2 separate regions of the Homo sapiens genome follow, and region 2 is linked to region 1. The links are contacts of gene promoters, found by promoter capture Hi-C in human tissues and cell types (Jung and others, 2019). All regions are on one chromosome and are shown on one strand. The core of a region is centred on a gene start or on the middle of the fragment in contact, and the rest is flanking DNA. Distances in the headings are between cores, read along the strand shown.

Region 1 (6,900 bases), core at 2,821-5,320:
GAACTAAGAAAAATTTACAGTGCTCAGAATACAGATGATTCAACACAGGAAGGATGCAAGAGGAATTCTTAGCGTCTTGGTAATAAGGGTAGTCCTGAGATAACAGCTGTAATGTATGCCTAAAAAGTAACCCGTGAGTCACATTGGAACAGGAGGATGAGGGGCTCTAGGAAAGATGACATCAGGAAAAAAAAAATCATGGCTAGACTACCTGATGTGTTGGATCATATTGAAAGGAGGTTGATAGTTCTTCCAGAAAGTGTGGAAGTAAAATAGAGGTTGCGTAAGGGATGGGAAAAACCAAAAACCAAGTATTCTCCCTACTCTCACTCTCAGTACCGAATGTTTCACCTCTGGTCACCCAAATGTGTGGGAGTTTCTCCCCACCAACCACCAGTTCTTCAGTAGAGATCAACTGGGAGTCCTACAATTTAACTCTATTCTGACTCTATCTACCTGGAGAAAGCATCAGATCACACAGGTTAAGGGCTCAGTCCCACAAGACTTCCCCCCAATGTCAGATGCCAATCACAAGTAGTAGGTTGTCACACCTATACTTCTGACCAACTAGCTATAAGTTGGGGGTCCACAACCCCCTTCTCAGGTTCAGTTAATTTGCTAGGTAAGCTCACAGAACCACAGAAAACACTTGCTTATATTTACCAGTTTATTATATTAATGAAGGATGTAATTAGGGACACAGATGAAAAACAGTTGGAAGAGATGCAAAGGGCAGAGAATGTGGAAAGGGATACAGAGCTTCTGTGTCCTCTCTAGATACGCCACCCTCCAGGAACTTTGATTTGCTCAGCAATCTGGAAATTCTACAAACCTTGTCCTTTGGGGGGTTTATGGAGGCCTAATTACACAGCCATGATTAATTACACCATTGGCGATCAAGTCAACCTTCAATCCGTCTCCCCTCCCTGGAGGTTGCAAGGGAGGTGGCACTAAAAGTCCCAACTCTAATCATGCCTTAACAAGCTCATTAGCATACAAAAGACACTCTTAATACCCCAGAGATTCCAAGGATTTTAGGAGTTCTGTGCCAGGAACCAGGGGCAGAGACATATTTCTTATTATATCACAATATCACAGCTTGGTGCACAGAAAATAAAGCAAACAAAAATCAAGACAAGGCAATCATTAACTCTAGGAAAAGCAAAAAGTTACAAGAGGGATGAAATGCCATAAAACACTGCACGGCAAAACAGTGAAAAGTATTTGCAAAGTCTTCTTAGTGCAAACATTGAATTTTTTTTTAATGATGGCACTACTATATTGGGTAGTTGAAAAGAAGAGAAGGCAGTGTGTCTGGAGTAGGGTGAGCAAAGGGAGAATGGTAAGAAAGGAGATCAGAAAGGAAAACAGGAATTAGGTCATGCTGAGGTTTGGATTTTCTTTCCTAAGGGTGCTAGAGAGCCACTGGGGAGTTTTAGACAGGAAACTTGAATGCTCTAACTCATGTTTGAAAATAATAACTTTGGCTCTATTGTGGAGGAAAATATACCATGCAGGGATAAGGTGAAAAGCCAGTAGGCCCGTTGGGTAAGAGGGATAAGAGGCTTCTGCAGAAGAGATTTTTCCTATAATGTGGCCTGGACTGGGAAAGGCACACTTCGGGATGTAAGGAAGTGGGTAGGTGGGAATATACTTAGGAGGTTGGTGGCTTACGGAGTAAAAAGAGGGACACAGGGATGACTTCCTGCATGTCAGCACAAGGCATGTGGAGAAGGCAGAGGAGGTTGTTACTGGGTTCAGGAAGGCTGGGGAGGGAATGATTTGCAACTAGAGAGTCTGGGATCTAGGGTTCTGTTTTGGACTTGTTAGGCCGAGTTGCCCCAGAAAGTACCAAGTAGGCAACTGTGCCAGGGCTCAGGGTACAGACAAGGCTAGGGAGAAACTCAGAATATGCTCAGACTCAACAGGTAGTAATTCCTCCTTTTCTCTTGCCAATGCAAAGAAATGTTTCATTATATGTTTGGCGTTTTATACGGCCTCAATGGTATGATTTGGGGCACTGATTGATTGAAGACTTGATACTGAGAATCTAAGGGTAAACAAGCAGTGAATCCTGGAATATATCACAATAGGTAACCCATTCAAAGTGCTTAGGCCTCCCTGGTTTTCTATTTTGGGTCATATCTGTCTTAAGGAAACACTCTCTCTACCAAAGCTGAACTCATAAAATAGTAAAAGTCCTCCCCCGCCCACACACACAAGAAATAATTTCCCATTATTAGCTGGATTTAATAAACATTTTCTTCCAAAAAAAAAATTTGTCCCTGCTCAGTAGACTTCTCTTTATGTGTACAAAGCACGTGCCAAGTTAAAGACCATGTCAGGCACACTTTGAGACACTTTCCGTTTTTTAAAAAGTTCTTTCTTAATAAACATTCAAAAGGACCAATTTGTTTAAAAGTCTTTCAAAGCACAATTCACTACAGGTCGTAGAGTTCTTTAAACCCTCAGCAGGATTCTTTCTTGACTTTCTCATTGCTTTGTGCAATCTTTGTATTTAATCATTTATCCCCGAATTGGTCTTCGCAGTGTGGCTTTTAACAAGAACTGGGTTTTAGCCACATTACAGTAGACGCGGTGGGGGCGGAGGGCAGCAGTGGCAATCGCAAAATAAAACGTATCATAAAGTGGTAACGGTTCGTGATTTAGGCCAGTTGTTGAAAAATAAATGCCTGTTATATAGAATCACAGAACTTGAGAGCTTGCGGCCAAGGGAAGTCGTTCATCGGTGGACCGACAGCGCCCCGGGCGGCAGAAAGAAGGCGGCGGCGGCGGAGACCCGGGGAAGTTGCCGGATTTTTAAAAAGGCACCTGCTGGGTGAGTCCTCACTGTGCAAACGGGAGCCACAGGTGCCCGATTTTAAGGGGCTACAACTCGGGAAAACCTAAGTCTGTAAAACTAAGTACGTTAAACTAAGTAAGTTCTCGCTGTGCACCAAGTTGATGGGGGCGATTATTTACGGCGGAGAAACTGAGTGGAGGAAGGAGGGAGAATTCCGCTAAAGTTTGCCTGCGACTGACAGCTAGGGAGTGACCTGGAAGCCAGGAAGAGGGGCAGAGAGGAAACTAAAGAAGTAGGTAAGAGAGTCAGTTTATGAAAATAGAGCCTGCTGTGGAGAGCAGCAGGCACACCTGCGGAGGAGGGGGCTGCCTCACCTGCGGGGCCGCTGCGCGCCCCCCTAAGTGTGTTAGCGGGGGAGGCGGGGCTGGAAAGGAAACCTGGTGAAGGGCTGGCCCGGAGCCTGGGGTGGGGATATTCACTGCGGGATAGGGCCAGCAAGAGGACCCGACACGCATCGTCCCGAGTGACACGTGTAAATGTCAAGATACAGAGACATCTGCAAATGTCACCCAAGAGGGTGAGGACGGGGGAGCGGTCCCGAGGCTGTGCCCTCCGGGGCAGGTACTGGCTCCTGTGGGGCTGCGGGCCAAGTGTCGCCCTTCCCCAAGGAATTGGCACCTGGGGGGGGGGGGTCGGTCTCGCCGCGCTGGAAGCGCAAGCCCCGGGGCTCCGGAGATGCGCCGGGGCGCGTCGCCCCTCGGGGCAGCCCTGGACCTCGGCGCGCCCAGGCGCAGCGTGCGGTGCCCTCGGCGGGGCGGGCAGCGAGCCGCCCTAGTTCGGCGACTTACCTCGGGCCTCGCAGGGCGCGAGCAGAGCACCGGCCAGGGCGAGCAGGAGGGCGCGGGCGGGGGACACGGGCAGCGGGCGCGCTGCCATCGTCGCCGGCCTTCAGTGCAGCAGCTCTCGGGCCCGGCGGCGAGCGCTGCACCATCCCACGCGGGCGCCGAGCCGGGGCCGGGCGTCGCGACCGGAGGGATTTCCTGCCTCGGCGAGTCAGCTCCGGAGCCCTCGCGCAGCGCCCGCGCCGCCGCTGAGCTCTTCTAGCCTTTCATTTTTAAAAAAGTTTCCCCCCGTGTGTGTGCGTGCGTGCGCGCGCGCGCGCCGTTCTGGCACAAGCCAGCCTTGACCGTTGCAATAAATGAGCAAACTGTCCGAGTTGGCCCGGGGACTAGGAAGAGCGTTAGTGAGAGAAGGCAGGCCTGTGAAATGGATCCACGGCCAGCAGTCACCGTTCTTATTACCGCGGAACAAATTATTGTCTCCCCCGCACCCCCGCCAGTTGGCGGCGTCCCGCGGGTCCTAGAGACCGCTCGGGTCCCCCCGCCAGGGTCCCGCCCCGAGCCGCGGCTCGCTCACCCCCGAGGGTGGGCGGCTCAGACGTGGCTCAGTGGCGTCCGGGCGCCCGGAGCGCACACGTCCCCGCCCCAGGATGATGTGGCCGCAGGGCCCGGGGCGCCCGGCTGCCAAGCGCACATGCGGCGGCACGGTCCAGCTTTTCAGGCTGAAGCTGGAAACGATGACTCTGCTACTCGCTCCCCGGCTCTCTGGGAACCCTCGGAGTGCGGGTCAGGTCTCCACCGCGGCCCACAGCCCGGCGCGCGACCCCGCCCGGCCCTAAGCGCCCAAAGGGGCATCTCTCGCCCGAGAAACAAGCTTGGACTCGCAGGCACAAGACACCTGGGCGTTACTTTTGATCAACAGTGTTAGGTTTTACGTTGATAGATTGGCTCACGTTTCCATTCCATGACCTGGACCCAGAAAAGGGTGTACAGTGACGTTCCCCAAACTTTCCTGATTGTAAGAAGCACCTGGGTTGGCTTGTTAAAAAGATTCCCGGGCGCCCTCCTACGCTTTCAGAATGAGACTCTCCAGGCTGTGAGGCCAGGGGAGCCCAGGGTGTTTGGAGAAACACCAATGAAAGAATGGTGCGCCTTGCCTTCTCATCCTTGTTCCGGGCTGACCCCACCTCTTCAGCCTCGCTCGGCCCTCAGGGAGACCATGAAAAGCAGCAGCGAGGGGGCCCGCACAGACAGAAATGGCTGGAGCTATGGAGGATGGCTGATGCCCACCCTGCGGGTTACCATGATTCCCAACCTTGGGGACTTATTAGAATAGTAAGAGTTAAAGACATTGCCAGCCCCAGACACCAGTTAACTCAGTTTCCCACAATGCGTGGAGCTCAATAGTTTTCAAAGCCTCAGGTGATTCTACTGTGCTGCTCAGACCTAGGACCACCTGCAGAAATTCCATCCTGGTCCTGCGACCTCGCACCGATTCCTGACGGAGCACCCACTCCTAGGAGGCGGTTATCCAGCATTTGAGGAAGCTGCCTTCCATACCATCTCTTCCCACTGCAGAGGAGTTTTCTCAGGAGTTCCCTCCCACGGCAGGTTTTGCAGTGTTCCCAAAACCCAGGTCGATCCTCCTAACAAGGTGCAGGACTTTCTTTTTAAAAAACCTTAGTGGGAAGCACAGGCTCTCCAGCCCCCTTCCCAATGCTGCCATATCTCAGTACCAGATCTGGAAACCAGGCCTGGTTCAAGCCCTGTGTCATATCTAACCGTACTACCAACCAGCGTTGCAGTGTACTTCTTTTGTTCATTCATTCAGTCAATCTACATGAGCAACCCTATGTTAGAACTTGGGAAACTAAACGAGAAAGCCTCTTGCCTTCAAAGACTTTTCTTTCTGATCAAACTGATAAATCATCATTATTGGACAGTGTGAGCTAGTTACTTAACCTAGTTAATAATGATTAGGCTTGTTTACTGATATGGTTTGGCTGTGTCCCCACCCAAATCTCATCTTGAATTCCCATGTGTTGTGGGAGGGACCTGGTGGGAGGTAATTGAATCATGGGGGCAGGTCTTTCCTGTGCTGTTCTCATGGTAGTGGATAAGTCTCAAAAGATCTGATGGTTTTAAAAAGAGGAGTTCCCCTCCACAAGCTCTCTCTCACTTTCTGCCTGCTACCATCCATGTAAGACATGACTTGCCCCTTCATGTCTTCTGCCCTAGCCATGTGGAAATGTAGGTCCATTAAACGTTTTTCCTGTATAATTTTACCCAGTCTTGTGTATGTCTTTATCAGCAGCACGAAAACAGACTATTTACTACTTCATAATTCATTACATACCTCGTATAATCGGAGTATTGTGCTAACGTCTTTCACCTGCATTATTTCATTTTTTAAGTCCTGAATATACAGATGAGGAAACTGCAGCATAGAGATGTAGCTTTCCCACCACCACACAGTGAAGTAGGTCAGAGCCCAACCTCAGATCTGTTAAAGATAAAGCCTGTTTCTTTAAGGCTGAGTTCCAACCTTCAGTTTTAGCAGCTGTTAAGTGAAGGTAAAATACAAACCTCCCAGGTGGTTGTGAGCACCAGGTGAAATAATGCAATGTCTCCCAACCCACCTGATCCCTGGGATGTCTGTTAAGAATTCAATTCCTCTGGCGTTTGCACTGGAGATTCTCATTAGAAAGGTCTGGGAAGGACAAGTTTTAGCAAGTACTTAGGTGATCCTGATACTTGTGGCCCATAGAACTTCAGACACATCGACGCAAGAGAATTAAAAATTGTTTTCTTCCAGCTCAAAGGGCCAGATTTGCTTGCAGATGAGCCCAGCCACTGGCCTCTCGGATCCTTCTGACTGGTTAAATGGTTTATTCACAATGGACCTAACATGTGCTGTGCACTGGGCTGGGGGCCTTGTATACATTTTCTCTTAATGATCAATTTATTTTCGCTCTTTCATATTCAATTGTTAATGTTGACTGTAAAAGTCCAATTTCTTTTAAACCTGGATGTTGCAAAGCTTCCTCCAAAGAACTAAATGTGCCCCAAGACTGTCCTTGATTTGTTTCTGACTGAACGAAAGAAAACAGCCATTGCAGAGGAAAAATGAAGAAAAATAAAATCCTGGCTGCAAGCTCTGGATTTCAACCCTGTAATTCACCATCTCTGTGAAGCAAGCGGCCTGGGCTGACACTGTCTCCACAAAGCCTTCATAGACATCAATAACAGCCAGCTAAG
Region 2 (6,575 bases), core at 2,469-4,968, 330 kb after region 1:
AGTAAGCAAGGAAAAAAAGAAAAGCTTTTCCCTTCTGCCAAGTGCCAACTAATAAATATAAAGGCCTTAGGGGGGTTAGAAAATCATCAATGAGTGCTAAAACTAGTGGATAAAAGTTGCAGGTGGTACAGGATATTTACATAGTCTCAAGGTATCTCCCTTTACATTGCCTATTAATTTCAAAGGAAAATGGTAAGTTTACATAGAGAAAGTTGGCAGATTCTACCTTTGCCAAGTGATCAAACTTAACGTCGCACATATTGAGACAAACAAATATCACATGCCTTCTGATATTATGTGCTATGAAAGACAGAGTACTGTTTCTTGTGTATTTCTGCTAAAACTGCTGAATCTGAATATGAACGTGGGAAAACATCAAACAAACCTCAACTGAGAAAGTCCATAAAATAACTTGAAAATATCTAAGGTCAAGGAAATGATAAAAAGGACAAGAGACTGCTTCAGATTAAGGGAGACTAAAGAGACATGAAAACTGAATGCAAGAGTGGTCCAGAACTGGGTCCAGGCCTTGGGGAAAAAACTACAAAGGACATTGAAGGAATGATAAATATGGACTGTGGTTTAGATAATAGTATTATATCAATGGCAAGTGTCCTGAATTTGTTAATAGTACTGTGATAATGTAAGAGAATGTCTTGCTCTTAGAAAATACACACTGAAGAATTTAGGGGTAAAAGGGAGTGATGTCTCCAACTTACTTTCATATGGCTCAGAAAAATATTGTTAATAGATAGGTAATGATAAATCAAATGAGAATAAAATGTAAACAATTGGTGAATCTGGGTAAGGAGGTATTGGATAATTTTTGTATCGTTTTCTTTTACTTTAAAGTCTGAAATTATTCAAACTAAAGAGTTACCAGAGAACTTGTCATCACTGGAAGGAACAAGAGCTTCCCTCAAAAACATGATTCAGACTGCCAGTCTCATCCTCTAAGCCATGAGTCCCTGACTCCCCAGCCACGGACCAGTACCAGTTTGTGGCCCATTAGGAACCAGGCCGCACAGCAGGAGGTGAGTGGTGGGTAAGTGAACAAAGCTTTATCTGCATTTGCGGTCACTCCCTGTCGCTCACATTACCACCTGAGCTCCGCCTCCTGTCAAATCAGCAGTGGCATTAGATTCTCATAGGAGCACAAACCCTACTGTTAACTGAGCATGCAGGGGATCTAGGCTGCCCTCTCCTTATAAGAATCTAATGCCTGATGATCTGTCACTGTCTCCTATCACCTCGAGGTGGGACAATCTAGTTGCAGGAAAACACGCTCAGGGTTTCCACTGATTCTATATTATGATCAGTTGTAGAATTATTTCATTATATATTACAATGTAATAATGATATAAATAAAGTACACAATAAGTGTAATGCATTTGAATCATCCCAAAACCATCCCCCTACCCTGATCCATGGAAAAATTGTCTTCCATGAAACCAGTCCCTGGTGCCAAAAAGGTTGGGGATCATTGCTCTAAGCTCACTTCCACCAGTGAAACATGGTACCCTGCACATGGCTGGTTGCTCAGGATGATCTAGGGAACTGAATACTAACTGGTTATAATACACCCAGTGCATAAGCCCAGGAGAATAATTAAAGGCAGGTCACACACTAACATTCCCTTCCTAACCCCTGCACATTAACCCACTGAGTAAGAATGTACCACTTCCTGGTCCGCCATAATATCAATTATCCATTCTCTGGTCACTTAGCCTGTGACATACTGAGATACTGGGTGTGACAAATGTTAGTAAACTGAGAAGTGGTGTCTGTGTGTGTGTGGGGGGGTGCATGCACGTGTGCAGTAATAGTTGTCATTTTCATCTACTAACCATATGCAATAATGCAACAGAGGGGTGAGCTTTTGGAAATCAGGGAATATGTCTTCCTTTTGGAATCCTACATAAATCCTCTCACAGCATCTGGCACACACGAGGCATCCACGAGACACCCAGTGTGGTGTGGAAGAAAGCTGAGTCAGAAGACCTGGAGTTTACTGGCCAATGTTCTCCATGTGGTCCGGGACTTCTTACTTTACCTCTCTGGACTCCAATTCAGTTCCATCAAGCACACACTGGTGCTGTCTGTAGCCAATCTTAAAAGTAGTGTCTGAGGCCGGGCACAGTGGCTCACGTCTGTAATCCTAGCACTTCGGGAGGCCAAGACAAGTGGATTATTTGAGGTCAGGAATTCAAGACAAGCCTGGCCAACATGGTGAAACCCCATCTCTACTAAAAATACAAAAATCAGCCGGGCGTGGTGGCAGGCACCTGTAGTCCCAGCTACTTGGGAGGCTGAGGCAGAAGAATTGCTTGAACCCAGGAGGAGGAGGTTGCAGTGAGCCGAGATCACATCACTGCACTCCAGCCTGGGTAACAGAGCGAGACTCTGTCTCAAAAAAAAAAAAAAAAAAAAGTAATGCCTGAAGAGTTATTTTATCAGTCAAGTTTTAATCAAAGGAGCAGAAACATTTTGAGTATTTTGGATTAAGGGATTTATAGGATGAGGCTTTACACAATTGTGAGAAAAGCTGAAGAAATAAAGTTCCGAGGGGAAGTTGGTAGATCAGAGAAGAGTCATTCCCCAGCTCCTAAGAAAAACTCCAGAGTGTGCAGAGAAGGTCACGGAAAGCTGCAGCCTTTGCACTGAGTTTGCATCCATCAGTAGGGCCACCAGTCAAGAGCTTGATACAGAGCAGAGGAGGGCAGAAATCAGCTGAACTCTGCTGGAACCTCACAGCCTCTAACCAGGACAGTCTTTAAAGAGTCCTACTGGCAGCTTCATTTCCATCTCTGTCACAGCTGCCCGCCAAGAGAGACAGACCCCCACTCAAAGCTTGGTTCCAATGTGGAGACTGATGATGCACACACAACAAGCTGGTATGAAAAAGTTTATTGCTCACATAATTGAGCTCTCTGGGGGGAGTAGGCAGGCCTCCCCAGCAGGCCTGACATGGCTTGAGGGATCGGGGAACCTCTTCCCCGATCGGGGGTTTTATGTGGTTAGGGGGTGGGGCCAGCGGGGAGCTCCTTTTATAGCACAGGCAAAGGCTTGTGTGGTTTGAATTTCCTGCACTAAAGGGAAAGAGAAGTGGGCTTTTCCATCAGCTTGTCCAGCTACGGGGATCAAAAAGAAGAGGGAGGAACGAGGCTTAGAGCTGTCAGCAGTCAAACATCAAAACATGGAGACACATCAAAACATGGAGACAGACTTCTCATTATAACCTTCAGATCTCACAGAAGTATCTCTTCACCAACTTTCACTTGGGGCCATACAGGAAGGAAGAGTCTAAAAAACATAACTTCAGTTTAGCCAAGTTAACCCCATGCAGAGACACCACAGATATCGCTAGGCAAGTCCATGATTAACCAGAGCCAGTTTTGTTAGATTGGGAACATCCTATGGCCCACTAAACTGAAATTCGTTATTGAATAATACAAAATACAGAATAGAAGAAAACTCGTCTTCAGCTTGGCTCTTGAAATATACAACTCTTCCCTTAATTTGCAGTATAAAATAACATCCACCATATCCTGGGCAGGAAACAAACCTTGCCCTCTCCACTCACTGATCTCTATCAAGAGGACCATTTGCAGTGGCTGATGCTTACGGGGATTGCTGAAAAGATACACCAAGGCTGCCTATCCAGTTCTCAAGCTTTTCCCAATTTTACCCCTGGATCATGCCAGCTTGTCAGGGAGCTGCACACTTGGCCATTGTCCTGCCTCCTGTGATGGATTCATGGCAGCCACCTATTCTTTTCTATTTCTCCTGTCAAGAGGTGGAGTCAATTTCCCATTGATATAGGAGCTAGAAAGTAATTATTTAGGCAGATAGGAAGGGCAATAGAGTCCTTGGCGAAATTTCCCTTTTAACGAAAAGCAGCCCCCAAAATCATTTCTTTTCTAACAAAGAGCAGCCTGAAAAATCAAGCTGCAGACATAGACAAGCAAACTGGAAGTTTGCACAGGTGAATGCTGGCAGCTGTGCCAATAGAAAAGGGCTACCTGGGGACCAGGTATGTTCAACATGGAGGCTCCATCTTCCCTTTTCTTTGTAACCATGTGTAAAGTAAGAGAATAGGCAACATGGTGCCAGCCAGGTAGAGAATCCATGTGCATAATAAAAGATTAGGGTGGGGTAGCCAGATTTTCACGCACTATGCAAATGACACACCTAGTTCTAACCAATTTTTTGCGCCTTATGCAAATGGCACACCTTGTCCAAACAATCTTTCATGCCCTATGTAAATCAGACACCACCTCCTCAAGCTAATCTATAAAACTTGCTGCATTTCACCACGGAAGCAGCAACCCATTTTTCTGGGACCCTTCTCTGCTACAGAGAGCCCTGCTCTTCTCTTTGCCTATTAAACTTCCACTCTGAGCCTCACCCTTTGTGTGTCCATGTCCTACTTTTCCATGGTGCGAGGCAACGAATCTCAGGTATTTACCCCAGACAACAACGCCATTTCACCATTCTCTTGAATCTGGACTAACCTCACAATGTGTTCTTACCAATGGAATGTGGTGGAAATGATGTAAAATTTCTGAGGCTGAGCCTTAAAACACCTATGCCTTTCCCTTCACATCCAAGAGGATGGTCCTCTTGGAACCCTGCTGCTGTGTGATGAGAATCAAGGCATGGAACCCCAGCCCACAGCTGACAGTGGTGTGGGAGGGAGCCATGCTGCATGCTCCACATCCAGTTGAGCCCATGGATGACACCACCTCGCCACTGCCTGGCTGAGCCCAGTCCAACCCACAGAATTGGTAGAGATCATAAATTGGACTGGTTATACTAAGTCACTAAGTTTGGGGCAATAACCAAAATGTCCACTACCCCCTCAATGCCACCCACCCCCTTTGTGGGATCTTTCACTGAAATATGCTTTGGTATTGGGTCATCTGCTAGCATTGAAGGATACTTCAATGAGAGACTGGCTTTTATACAAGGTCATTTCTGTCTCCAGCAGAGCTGCTTTCAAGGACAAAGTTTGCAACAGCCAACACTGTTGCTTTGTGAGCACCTGAAGCAGAAATTCTTCTCAGGTGTCAGCCATAGAAAAGGCTAGGCATCTCCTAAACAACTCAGCTGTACACCCGTATTTATCGTACTGTCTTTTTCCCTCTCTGCTTTGTGAGCTAGGAAGTTTGGAACCACACTAATGAATCTCGCTTCCATTAGCAGTGAACTAGCCCTCTATAACTTCATTTTTTTTTCCTTCTTAAAATTTTCCTTTTCTTGTTTTCCTCAACTGCTCTTCCTGCAGCTTGCATTTCTTGCATTTTTGGAAGTTACATCAAACTCTCTGTGGGCTGAGGCAAGATATAAATAAAATGTAGAGAAAACACAGTTGAATAACCATCAAAATGTGAACCTCTAAATTTGCCATTCCACATTTCTCTATAAAATGTCATAAAGTGACATTAAAATAAGAATATAGAAAAATGAATGATGTCTTGTCTACCATGGGGGCAGAAAAAGGAATTCTGTGGTTCTGTTGGTAAACCTGCTCCCAAGATCACCTTTCAGAAACTCTGATCTGACTCTGTTGCTCCATATTTTAAAAGCCTTCAGTGATTAGAAGATGCAAGGGCAGAATGATGGCCCCCAGAGTTGCTCATGTCCTAATCCCCAGAACCTGTGGATATCCTATGTGACACGGCAAAGGGGAACTGAAGTTGCAGACGAATTAATGTTACTAATCAGCTGAACTTAAAATAGGAAACTATCCTGCATTATTTCAGTGGCCCAATGTACTCTTAAGGGTCCTTAGAAGTAGAAGAGAGAATCAGAGAGAGACAGTGTGAAAAGGACTCAACCCAAAAGCAACTCAAAGTTGTGGCATTGAAGAGCATGGAGGGGGCCCTCCGCCAAGGAAGTCAGCAGCCTCTAGAAGCCGGGTAGGGCAAGAAAAGAGATTCTCTCCTTGAGCCTCCGGAAGGACACAGCCCTGCCAACACCTTGATCTCCACCCCAGGAAACCCATCTCAGACTTCTGACAGCCAGATTGGTAGATCATAAAATTGTATTTCTTGAGCCACTAAATTGTGGTAATTGGTTACAGCAGTCATAGAAAACTAATACATGAGATAACGAACAAAGAGTAGGAATGCACCCAGGACTTTTTGTAACCCGCCTAACTTTCCCACCTCATCTCTGATCCCCTTGCCACCCAACTATTCTCCATCCTGTCCCATTCAATGCCCACTGGGCCACTCGGGCTTCCATGTCTGGCTTTTCCTCCCCACTCTTATTCTAATCTGTCTACCTGCTAATCACCTATTCACCAATTCAGGCCCAGCTTGATGGTCACCTCCACCTTGGAGCCCTCCTTGATTCCTTTCCTGTTTCACCCATCGCTCCAGGCTATGCAGAAAGAGCCCCTGGCTGAGAGCACCCAAGTGTTATATTGTTCTATCAGCATTATGGGTTTTTCTGTAGCCCTCCCCAGAACCAACACTTTGAAGGCAAGGACAGTGTCTTGATCCCCTTTGTTTTCCCAGTGCCTGGCTCTTTCTAGATTCCTTATGAATGCGGCCGTAATAGGACAGAAT

What was found. Contacts are between HindIII fragments. The study calls those that stand out against the background at their distance.
Region 2: a fragment that was not itself captured here is called in contact with the fragment with the promoter of ADAM12 in region 1 in 1 of the 25 tissues and cell types used here (spleen).

Annotation. Positions count from the first base shown.
Region 1 is chr10:126,384,407-126,391,306 of GRCh38, forward strand. It overlaps ADAM12 (ADAM metallopeptidase domain 12), which reads right to left and starts at 4,071. Exons shown (of 23, transcript NM_001288973.2): 1 at 3,652-4,071. The coding sequence starts at 3,739. The HindIII fragment of the contact is 8,947 bases long and covers 1-5,599 here.
Region 2 is chr10:126,711,821-126,718,395 of GRCh38, forward strand. No RefSeq gene overlaps it. Among named protein-coding and RNA genes, the nearest start is that of C10orf90, 44 kb to the left of the region's middle. The HindIII fragment of the contact is 3,528 bases long and covers 1,955-5,482 here.